3 separate regions of the Homo sapiens genome follow, and regions 2 and 3 are each linked to region 1. The links are contacts of gene promoters, found by promoter capture Hi-C in blood cells and fetal thymus (Javierre and others, 2016). All regions are on one chromosome and are shown on one strand. The core of a region is centred on a gene start or on the middle of the fragment in contact, and the rest is flanking DNA. Distances in the headings are between cores, read along the strand shown. Region 1 holds the start of ABCG4 (ATP binding cassette subfamily G member 4). Region 2 overlaps ARCN1 (archain 1 coat protein complex I subunit delta). Region 3 overlaps PHLDB1 (pleckstrin homology like domain family B member 1).

Evidence for each region. Contacts are between HindIII fragments. The CHiCAGO score rates a contact against its expected background, and 5 or more counts as called.
Region 2: a contact is called between a fragment that was not itself captured here and the fragment with the promoter of ABCG4 in region 1, in 1 of 17 cell types (non-activated CD4 T cells). The highest score is 5.6, in non-activated CD4 T cells.
Region 3: a fragment that was not itself captured here is called in contact with the fragment with the promoter of ABCG4 in region 1 in 1 of 17 cell types (naive CD8 T cells); the score reaches 5.4 in naive CD8 T cells.

What each region holds. Positions count from the first base shown.
Region 1 is chr11:119,147,168-119,151,000 of GRCh38, reverse strand. It overlaps ABCG4 (ATP binding cassette subfamily G member 4), which reads right to left and starts at 1,949. Exons shown (of 15, transcript NM_022169.5): 1 at 1,638-1,949; 2 at 798-1,047. The coding sequence starts at 1,035. RefSeq lists a silencer at 1,771-1,850 and an enhancer at 2,508-2,567. The HindIII fragment of the contact is 14,272 bases long and covers 1-3,833 here.
Region 2 is chr11:118,580,388-118,584,220 of GRCh38, reverse strand. ARCN1 (archain 1 coat protein complex I subunit delta) reads right to left here. Exons shown (of 10, transcript NM_001655.5): 2 at 2,712-2,975; 3 at 863-1,042; 4 at 207-412. Among named protein-coding and RNA genes, the nearest start is that of ARCN1, 9.9 kb to the right of the region's middle. The HindIII fragment of the contact is 3,699 bases long and covers 1-3,247 here.
Region 3 is chr11:118,632,912-118,636,744 of GRCh38, reverse strand. It overlaps PHLDB1 (pleckstrin homology like domain family B member 1), which reads right to left. Exons shown (of 23, transcript NM_001144758.3): 10 at 1,197-1,352. Among named protein-coding and RNA genes, the nearest start is that of MIR6716, 9.2 kb to the left of the region's middle. RefSeq lists an enhancer at 1,205-1,875. The HindIII fragment of the contact is 2,788 bases long and covers 506-3,293 here.

The DNA.
Region 1 (3,833 bases), core at 700-3,199:
TGAACCTCAGAGAACAATGTCCCAGCCCCACCCCTGGCCCACACCCAGGCTCTGGGAAACAGCCTCAGCTTCCCTACTAGCAGCTAAAGCTGCTCAGGGTAGGGGCTGCAGGGGCTAGTCAGGGTTCAGGGGAACCTGTCCTCATGGGCGGGAAGAGGGAAGTGATGGGACTGCTGTACAGGGAAGAGAGAGAAAGGAACAATGCATGGAGAGCTGGGAAACCGGGCTTCTGGTCTCAGCTCTACCACTTACTAGCTGTGTGACATTGGTCAAGTTACTCAACTTCCCTGGGCCTCAGTTTCCTTATTAGTAACATGGAGATGACATCTATCCTGCCAAACCGCCACCCTCCCTGCTTCTGAGCACTGTGGTAAGAATGGAATAAGATGACAGGAATGAGAACGTCTTTATAATTAGGTCCAAGGGTATTGCTCAACCCTGCAGACACAGCCCCCTACTTTTTCATACCAGCCCTCACAGGTAGGAATCCTCCATAAACAAAAGAAGGAAAACTCATCAAGGACCACTCAAGGACCAGAGGTCACGGGATCTCTTTAGAAGATACAGCTTCAATAACCAATTGCACCTAGTATCCCATGGTGCTCACAGGTGTGGGGGAGCGTAGATCCTGACACCCCAAGAGTGCACAGTGAGCAACGGGCTGGGGCCCAGATTTTAGTGTTTCCACAGAGCCCACTGGTGCAGGACTTTCCGAACATGGGACACCCAGGCCTCATGCTTCTGGAGAGGCAACTCAGAGAGGGCCCACGGACTCCCCCTACCAGGCTGTTCCCTACCCCTTTTGCGCCAGCAGGGCCCCTCCCGCACGGAATAGGACAGCTCCACGAACTCGATGTCCACGGCTGAGCGCTTGGGTAGGTGGGAGAAGCGCTGGGCTTCAGTGATGTGGTTCTCCACCTTCTTCAGGTGCGTGGTCAGCACAGGGGGTTCCGCCCCGTCCTCCAGCGTCACGGCCATGGCCACAGCCCCCGGCCCTAGTCCACAGCCCACGGCCTCCAGCGCCTTCTCCGCCATCACGCCGCCGACCTGCAAGGGGAGGGCCTGCTCAGTTTGGGGCAGACCACCGAGCCCGGCTCAAAGCTCCCTGGCGTTCTAATGCTTCCCCCGCCCCCACTGCCCACCTCCTTCTCGGGGCAGATCCGCGACTGTTAGCCCCGCACTCTGCCCCCGCCCCCCACTCTCCGCACGGAGACGCTCAGTCCCGGGCAGCCCAGCTCCAGCCTGACCCCAGCCCGTCCCCTTGAAGCCCTCAATCGCTCCTTCCTCCCGGCGGCTTCTCTAATCTCCTTACCCCGCAGGCCAGCAGCCCCTGGGGACTGAAGGAATAGGGGGCGGGGGAGAAGAGGCAGCCGGCAGAGGCTGCCCGCTCTAGGAGGTCGGGGTAGCAGGGTGAGTGCAGGGCGGACCAGGGGAAGGCGGAGAGGAGGAGGCTTCAGGCCTCCGGCTGCGTCCCACTCCCCATCCCTTGGCGCGACGCCCAGGCCGGCCCCTCCCGCCGGCACCCCCGGGCCCGCGTGCCCCGGGCTGTCCCCAAAGCCAGGCGCACCACCCGGACTCAAAACTAAGCGCCCCACGGCAGCTCAAGCCCCCGCCCCATCTCCCGCATGCCTAGTCACCTTGACGCGCCCCCGGGCCGGTGCGGGGCCGGGATGCTCAGCGCTGCCACGGACCGGGGACGGAGAGCCGGGGCTCCCCTTACCTGCCTCGGGCTGCGGCACCCGCGTCCCGGCTCCCGGTCCCGGCGGCCCGGGCCGGGGCGGGGCCGGGGCGGGGCAGGCGAGGCAGGAGGGCCGGCCCTCGGCTCGGAGGAGACGGCAAGGATGGTGAGAGGCGGTTGGGGTCGCGCCCTGACTCTGCTGGGCTGTGCACACCCGCTTCCCAGAGCCTGGTCCCGGACGCTGTGTCCTCCGAGCCCGCGGGGCGACTGCGCTCTCCTACCAGCTACTGCTCGCCGGTCCCGCCGTTCTTAAAGGGCCCGCGCCGCCCGGCAGCCCGCGGGGGGCGAGGACGGCAAAGGAGAGAGCAGCGCTTGCGGCGCGGGGGCCGGAGGAGGTGCAGGGGTGAACTCAGGACTGGGGGTTGATGGCAAAGGGCCGACTTGGAGGCAGTGAGGAAAGGAGAGCTGGAGTCACTCCGTGGGGACAAGTCCCTGGAAGACAGATTAGGCAAGGGTGTTGGGGGTGGGGGAAAGTGGAGGGATTGTAAAGGTGTCAGTCTGTCTTCACACACGATACCAGTCCCCCAACAATTTCCCTCAGTTCCAGCCCATGAATGAGCGCAGGCCTCCCTCCAGGAATCCCCAAACGAGGTGCAAAGGCTTTCAAAAACGCAGGAGCCTTGGGACATTGGAACATCCTCCTGTCTCCCCATTCACACTTTCTCTGAGTTAGGACACTAATAAAGAAGGGAAAATGGCAGCAGCTTTGGGAGAGCCTGCAGTAGCTCCAGAGTTAAACTGGAACCCAGTGCTCAGCCTGCTCCGACTGTAGTCACCTAGCCAGATACAGGCCTTCAAGACAGGCACATGCCATATCCTGGAGGGACCTGTGTGCCAGGGCATGCACAGGGCTCGCAGACATGCCCTGGGCATCTCATGCACCTGCACATTCTCTCCCTTGCCCCCAAAGCCTTCAAATGTAGGTCCCCAGAACACACTTGGGGCTTTCCCCTGCTCTGCCCCTTTCTCAGCCAATTCCTCTTGGCCCTTGCCTGTCCCAGCCACTATGTCTTCAAGGGGTAAGTAGGTTAGCTAGCCAAGACACGTGATCTGAGCTTTTAAGTTCCCACCTGTCACACAGCAGAGACGATGGGGAGGGAAGGCTCTGAGGCTGCTGGTGTGACTGCCACCGCTGAGGCTTCTCCTTACTGCAGCAGTTGAGGGTTACTAGCAGTCAAACCTCTCCCCTGCTGGCCCCCCTCCCAACCACCTCTCCACAGCCCTAAAAGCTGGCGATCCCTGGAGGATTTCTCTAGGCCCCGCCCTGTTACTCTGAGGTTTGTGTGGGGTTTGGATCCAGTCTTTCCTATCTTCCCCCAACTCCATGCCCCACATCACCACCATTCCTCAGGACCAACCTCCTGTTCTCCAGATGGACCCTCCATTCTCCAAGTCAACTTCTCATCAGCTACTATAGACCTCCCCATCCCCCAACAGTTGCATTTATTAACTACTTTGTACCAGGCATTATGTTATTTAATCTTCACAATATCCCTATGCGACAGGTTTTACAACCCCCCTTTAGAGATGAAAAACTGAGGCATAGGGAGGTTAAGCAATAGTTGGTGGCAAAGCAGGGCTTGAATCCCAAAGTCCCTGATTTTACCCTGCTAATTGGGCCTCTCAGAACCTTATTCCCAAATGGACTGTCTCCCTCTATTTTCTAGACAGGCTCTTCATCCTCCTGAGATAACCTCCATGTCTTAATGCCACCCAGCTTTATTCTTTGGCACACAACTTTCTTTCTTTCTTTCTTTCTTTCTTTCTTTCTTTCTTTCTTTCTTTCTTTCTTTCTTTCCTTTCTTTCTTTCTCTTTCTTTCTTTCTCTCTCTCTCTTTCTCTCTTTCTTTGCTTCTTTCTTTCTTTCTGATATAGTCTCGTTCTGTCACCCAGGCTGGAGAGCAGTGGTGAGATCTCAGCTCACTGCAGCCTCTGCCTCCCAGGTTGAAACGATTCTCCTGCCTCGGCCTCCTGAGTAGCTGGAACTACAGGCACACACCACCACACCCGGCTAATTTTTGTATTTTTTGTAGAGATGGGGTTTCACCATGTTGACCAGGCTGGTCTCGAATTCCTGACCTCAAGTGATCCTCCC
Region 2 (3,833 bases), core at 149-2,648, 570 kb after region 1:
ATTTATAACTCTCTTTTATACAAAAGGAAAAACACCACATTCAGATTTCTTCTTTATCCTCATATTGTATGTGGCCAAATGTAACATCATATCTTACTTCATCAAGTCCTTCTTTATTTACAGCTTTCCAAGAAATCAGATTATGACTTCAAAGATAGACACATATACACCCTTCACCTGGTATTCTAAAGTACACTGGATTATACCTGGCTGGTGCAGGTGCCACTTTTGGTTTATCAGTTTCAATGATGGTCTCTGTGATCATGGCAGCTGTGCTGCCTCCAGATACTGCAGAGCTGCCAAATCCGCCAAATCCTGGTGCTTTTTTGCCCTGTCTCTCTGCATCTCTTCGGGCCTGTTGTAATTCCTTTGCTTTACGACGCATCTCAGCCTTAGCTTCACGTTCTTGAGTCTACAGAAAAAGACATACATTAATGTAGCTTTTTTTTTTGGGTTTTTGTTGAGACAGGGTCTCACTCTGTGACCCAGGCTGGAGTGCAAGTGGCACAATCACAGCTCACTGCAGCCTCAACTTCCTGGGCTCAAGTGATCCTCCCATCTCAGCCTCCCAAGTAGCTGGGACCCACATGCACGTGCTACCATGCCTGGCTAATTTTTTTTTTACTTTTTATAGAGACAGGGTCTCACTACGCTGTCCAGTCTGGTCTTGAACTCCTGGACTCAAGTGATACTCCCACTTCCGCCTCCCAAAGTGCTGAGATTACAGACATGAGCCACTGTGCCTAGCCTGGACATAGTTTTGAATACAGTCTACATTAGTAAGTAAAAATAGGAAAATGAGATTAGTGAAGCCTAAGAGAAAGACATACAAACAGGTAGTCCCAGAGAAGATCCTATTTACCTCTCTGACGGCTCTGAACACCTTCTCCTCATGAGAATCCATTTCTGTGAAGGTTCTGATCTGTGCCAAGTTAACATTCTCCCGGTATCCCAGTGCGACAATTTCATCAAAAGCAAAAATCAAATCAAAACAGTGCTCAGATATTTCATTCTCTTCTAAGGCTCGGCAATATTCAGGGATCTAAGCGTGGACACCAATAAAAAAGAAAGATTTAGAATTTATCAGCAGCTATATTTCCAAGTCTTATCCTTTAGAGTACATAAATTTCAATAACCTAAATCCCTTTATTAGCTACTTCTAGTCTTTATTTTATTTTTTGGGACAGAGTCTCGCTCTGCTGCCCACGCTGGAGTGCAGTGGTGCCATCTCGGCTCACTGCAACCTCCATCTCCTGGGTTTAAGTGATTCTCCTGCCTCAGCTTCCGGAGTAGCTGGGACTACAGGTGTGTACCACCACGCCCAGCTAATTTTTGTATTTTTAGTAGAGACGGGGTTTCACCATGTTGGCCAGGCTGGTGTTGAACTCCTGACCTCAGGTGATCCGCTTGCCTCAGTCTCCCAAACTGCTGGGATTACAGGCGTGAGCCACTGCGCCCAGCCTAACTCCCTGATTTTTTTTTTTTTTTTTTTTTTAAGACAAAGTCTAACTCTGTCACCCGGTCTGGAGTGCAGTGGCACGATCTCGGCTCACTGCAACCCCCACCTCCTGGGTTCACGCAATTCTCATGCCTCAGCCTCCTGAGTAGTAGGATTATGGGTGCCCGCCACCATGCCCAGCTAATTTTTTTGTATTTTGAGTAGAGACGAGGTTTCACCACGTTGGTCAGGCTGGTCTCAAACTTCTGACCTCAGGTGATCCACCCGCCTCAGCCTCCCAAAGTGCTGGGATTACAAGCGTGAGCCACCACGCCCAAGACCCTGATTCTTACAGCCGGGTGCAGCGGCTCATGCCTGTAATCCCAGCACTTCGGGACGCCAAGATAGGCAGATCACCTGAGGTCAGGAGTTCGAGACCAGCCTGGCCAACATGGTGAAACCCCGTACAAAAATTAGCCAGGCATGGCGATGCACATCTGTAATCTCAACTACTCGGGAGGCTGAGGCCAGAAAATTGCTTGAACCTGGGAGGTGGAGGTTGCAGTGAGCCGAGATTGCACCATTGCACCACTGCACTCCAGCCAGGGCAAGAGCGAGACTCCGTCTTTAAAAAAAAAAGAATCAGGGTCTTGCTGTGTTGCCCACACTAAAGTATAATGCCTGTGCACTTGAACTCCTGGCCTCAAGCAATCCTTCTGCCTCAGCCTCCTGAGTAGCTTGGACTACAGGCACATGCTACCGCACCTGGCCTTAGCCTTCATTTTAAGCAAGACTTTGGCATAAAGTCTTAAAAGGTGTGTGTGTGTGTGTGTGTGTGTGTGTGTCTGTCTGTCTGTCTGTCTCTGGATCAGTAAGTCTTACCTAAGTCTTCATTTTAAGCAAGACTTTGGCATAAAGTCTTAGAAGAGGGGTGTGTGTGTGTGTGTCTGTCTCTGGATCAGTAAGTCTTACCTAAAAAACATTACCTAAAAAGCATAGCCAAACAAGTGTCAGAACTAGAACGGCAGATTAGAACAACTGCTTAAGAACTGGGAAATGAAACAGTAGTTCCCATATTCTTTTGAGACATCTATAGTCTAAGAGGACACCCAATAAATGTCTGCTGAATAAACAAGGTGCTGCAGCAATAAGTCGCTGGGGTGCGGAGTAGGAACCTGCAAACTGGTTAGCATCAGCTGCTTTGGAGGAAAAACTAGTTTCACATAAAATGTAAAACAAAAAGTGGAACCCAGTATTATAGCAGTACTCTTACCACTCTTGAGAAGAGCCTTAGGGTCTCCAAATCTTCTAAAATGTTGCTGTTTTTGGTAGTGATCAGTACCATATACAGTTTCTCCATAGGCTGGTAGACATATCTTACACTCTCTGTTTCAACAAACGTATGTTGTTTTCCAGTGTTCATGAGCTTTGGAAAAGCTGCTAATAAGCCCTCAATCCGAGTTCGGGTCATTTCCACAAACTGTCGAGAAACAATAGCCTTTCCTGCTTTTGTGCAGACCGCTGCTGCCAACAGCACCTGCCAGGAACATATGCATAAGTAAGTACTAATTATTTCTTCACATCTGTTTTCTCAGCATCTCAGGAAATGTTCCATAGAATGACATATTTATTTAGTGACATGACTAGTAGTAGTATTATTTTTAAGACAGGGTCTCACTCTGTCACCCATGCCGGAGTGCAATGGCAAGACCACAGCTCACTACAACCTCAAACTCCTGGGCTCAAGAAATCCTGAGTGGCTGGGACTACAAGTGTGTGCCACCAAGCCTCGCTAATTTTTAAAAAGCTTTTAGTAGAGACAGTATCTCGCTATGTTTCCCAGGCTGGTCTTGAACTCCTGGGTTCAAGCGATCCTCCTGCCTTGGCCTCCCAAAGTGCTGGGATTATAGGCGTGAACTACCACGACCAGCTGACATGACAAGTAATAGAATACTGACTTTCACGGGCACAGTGGCTCACACCTGTAAACTCAGCACTTTGGGAGGCCAAAGCGAGTGGATTACTTGAGGTCAGGAGTTCGAGACCAGCCTGACCAACATGGTGAAACCCCATCTCTACTAAAAATACAAACACATTAAGAGACTTAGACATGTCAATCAATCACAATGTATAAATCAAATTTGAACAGTGACTGAATAATTGATAATATTAAAAATTATTGCTAATTTTTTAGGTGTGAAAATATGCTATCATGGTAATATATTTTTATGTAAGGAATACTTATATATTTTTAAAAAAGAGTTGTGTAGTTTTGAATCCTTCCATAGTCTCTCATATTAAAGGTGCTCCCTCAATGACTTTATATTGAACTAAAATAATTGTCTGGGATACATCTTATCTTCAAACTACGCTAGTTTTGCATGTAGTACTAACA
Region 3 (3,833 bases), core at 650-3,149, 510 kb after region 1:
CAGTACAGTCGAAGGAACGTGGGATTTGGGCCAACAGGCCTGGGTTCCAATTCTGACTCTGAAGCTTATATAATGGGAGGCTTTGGGCAAAATGTGTAGCTTCTCCTACTCCTAGTTTCCTTGTCTATAAAATGGGAATAACAGCACTTGTCTTGTGATACCGTCCTAAGGACAGCATTGAGGTAATCCAAGGAAGGCTCCCAGCAAGGTGCCTGACACACACCCATGTGCTTAGGTGTGTCAATTTTCTTCCCTCCTTTCATCAGTCAGTCTTACATCCAGAAAGTGCGTTTGTAAGACAGCAGCTCAGGGAGAGAAGCATGGGATCTGGACTCAAGGAAAGTCCAGCAGCTCCCCACTTACCACCAACCCCAGGCTAACCAGCAAATCCCCTACGTCACCAATTTTAGACACCCCTCCCCAATCTCACCACCCTCACTTCCCCCACACTAACTCCAGCCAAGCAAAATGTACATGCATGTGTGCATGTGCATGGCCACAAGCTTCAGCCATAAGGGTGGAAGCTGCTTGAGCCATCCTCTCCAATCCCTCCCTCACCTCTTCCCAACCCTTACTAACACATACCTCCTCCCAGCTTTACTCCCCAAACATACACAGTCACCTGTGCCACCATCCTGTGGTCTGGCTGAGATCAAGAGCAGGTGATCACAGTATCTAGCTAGCGTGTCACAGCTGGCCAGGCCACAATACCCAATAACCCTTGTTTTATAGCTCAGCCAAGGCAGGGCTGAGCCATGGCTGGAACCGAAATGAATGCCCTTTCTAGGGCCCCTAGCTGGCTCTAATATCCAGATCTCAAATCTTTCTGTGTGTCCCAGCACTTCCACCAGACAAGAGCTCTGCAAGCACAGGGGCAAGCCTCCTCCTCCTCCATCTTTCACCTTCCTGCTGGGCCAGTGCCAAGCTCTGAATGGGAGCAGAATCCACTTTCCACTGGAAGACTGAGGGGAGTCAGAGCTTAATAATAGTTATTCTTCACCGAGTGCTCATTACAATCACATCCTATTCTGTCTTTACATCTTGTTTAATTCTCACAACAACCTGTTGTAATTCTCATTTTACAGACAAGGAAATCCAGGCACAAAAGACGAAGTTAACTTTTGTGAGGTCATTGGGATTCAAACCCAGGTCACTGGCCTCCAACAGCACGCAGCAGGGAACGAGGTGGGGCACACCTTCCTCTTGGCGATGCTGCGGAGCAGCTCAGCCTTGCTCCGGAGCAGCCCCTGGCCGGCCAGCTCGCGCTCCTCCTCCACGCGGCTCTCCCGCTCCAACTGCTGGAACTCCAAGTCCTCAAAGAGCTTTGTCTCAGTCTCCAGGGCCTCTGCCTCCTTCAACGACAGTGACAAAGGGGGTTGGGTGGTGCTTGCAATGCCACTCTGGGCCTGGAAGACCAGGCCACAGGGGCATGCGTTGTATGGGGCTGGACCCGGGGAAATTGGGTAAGAAACCTGCCTCCCCCCAGCTCCCGCTGTACTTGGCCTTGCCCTTTTGCGGGCATCATGGCCTGGAGCGCTGATTCCCCAACCTTCCCGGTTCCCTCCAAACCGCAGCACCGACCCTGGTGTCCGGCAGGTACTGCAGAGGCCAGGTGGTCCCGTCCCACCGCTCTCCTCTCTTCCTTCTGGGGCGTGGCCCGCGGGGCCGGGGGAGGGGGGGCGGTGGAACTGACCCTTCTCAGCTGCTCCTGTAACTGTTCCCGCACTGACTCGGGGCAGTTATCGAGCTGCGTCTGGAGCTCGGCGTAGAGCGCCTGGCGGGCCTCCAGGTGCCTCCGTCCCGCGGCCAGCTCCGCCCTCTCCTGGTCGGCGGGAGGGCGAGGGAGAGGGCGGGGCACAGGGGAGAAACAGAACACACACTCCTCAACTCCGGCCCGGCAGCGGCGGGAGGGGAGCGCGGGAGGGCGGCCAGGGCGGGACAGAATGGGGGTCGGCAATGGGGGTTGAGAGAGGAGAAAAAAAGGCTAGAATCAAAGAGGAGAATAACCAGGCGAGGAGAAAGAAAAGGGCAGAAAGGGAAAGTGAGGAGGGAAAGAGGTGAAGAGGGAGAGGGCCCAAGGCCAGGAGCTGAAGGTAACACGGCAGTCAGAGGTGCAGGGGATGAGGTAACACAGGCAGAGGTGTGGGGGCAGGGCACAGATTTTGGTCTCCTGAAGTCCCTTGAACTGAAATTGTTGGGTAGGTCTCGAGAAAAGGCCCTCTGTTTTCTCTCCAAACCAGTCAAGGCTGGTTCTGCATCACAGAGCCTCCAGCTCTCATCCCTCCCCTTCTACTACAGCCCAGAGACCAAAATTTAACCCAGGGAAAAAGGGTAGTGATGGTGAGGGTTAAATCCAGGGTTGGGCGTCAATCAGGAGCTGAGGATGTTAAAGCAGTGTGGCAGAGGGGACCCCAACCCAACACCCTTGGCCTCCCTCCCCTCCTGCCCAGGGTCGGGGTGGGGTGTTGGCCCTGCAGGCTGAACTTCAGGGATGAGGGTTGCAATTAGTTCGGGCTGTTTCCATGGTAATGAGTCCCAGGAGTGGGTACAGAGGGGGTGGACGGTTCTTTCTGGGGTGAGATGACACCTCTGAGGGTGGGAAGGGGGACGAGGGGAGGGTTTGGTGAGTCACCCCTCAAAGGACAGGCAGAGGAGAAACTGTGGTTACTGATTCCAAAGCCAGAGTGGAGCCATGGGCTGAGGGCAGGGGAGGGAAGCCAAGTGAACCCTCCACACCATTGCCATCACTACCACCATCACCACCACCACCATCACTACCACAGCCTCGAATAACCTCTCTTCCCCACAGAGAAAGCGAAGTCTAGGCCTCCAAAAAACTCCAGGTCAGTGGGAAATGAGGTTAGGCAGGTTCCTTCTGAAATGCTGAGCTTTATCCCTGGGAGTGAGGCCCTATGCTGAACCCAGTCACTCCCATCCCTCTACCCAACTCATCTACCCATCCCCAGAGAGGAGGACCTAATCAGGCCAGTTCCTGGGGTCTAGGTGCTTCCTCATCCTTGGACTCAGCCTTTAAAATACCCTGTGTTATAGGTGGCTCAGGAGTGAGGAGAAGAGTAGGGGCTACCCATTACCAACCTCTGATGGGTATCTGAATTTGGGAAGCCCCAAGGGAAAGCTAGGAAGGGTAGCCACTATGTTGGCAGAGAGGTCCTGTTCAAGCCCTCCAAGACCACGCCCACAACTGGGCCTCCTTACTCCTTGGCTCCAGAGGGCAGGCAGGGGAATAGGTGGAAGACAGCCTACTCTGCTGTGCAGGAAGCTGCCAGGAAGCTTCCTTGGGTTATCTCATGCTGTCCTCAGACAGTAGCCTAAGACAGCAGCCTAGGCATTTCCAATGGAAAGAACTCTTCAGTCTGAGCAGCTCCACAGCCAAGCATTTCCCCCACCCTCATACCCCTCCTGCCAATGCCCCCTTGAGTAAAGTTGAGCTACCAATCCTCCTGCCAATTCCTTTCATATAAAAACTCTGGGGTCCCACACCAAGAAAAGAAGGAGGCAGCATTAGAGGAGAGAGGCCAGGGGCACAGAGGCACCCACTGAGTTAGTGCAAAAGCGGGCATGGCTCAGCCCTACCTGGGTGGCACTGGCAGTTAGGGGCATGCGGAAAGCCCAAGTCAGTGATTAGAAGGGACGTTAGTGTAGGCCTAGTTGGCAAGCGTGGAGTTAATTTGGCACAGAATTTGGGAGTGTGGTTTTGGGGGCCAGAGCCAAAGCTCCAAAAAAAAAAAAAAAGGGTCAAAGAATTTTTAAGATTCTCAAAATTGAGGGCAGGAGGAAGAAACTCAAAAAATCCAGAAGGAAAATTAAATTAT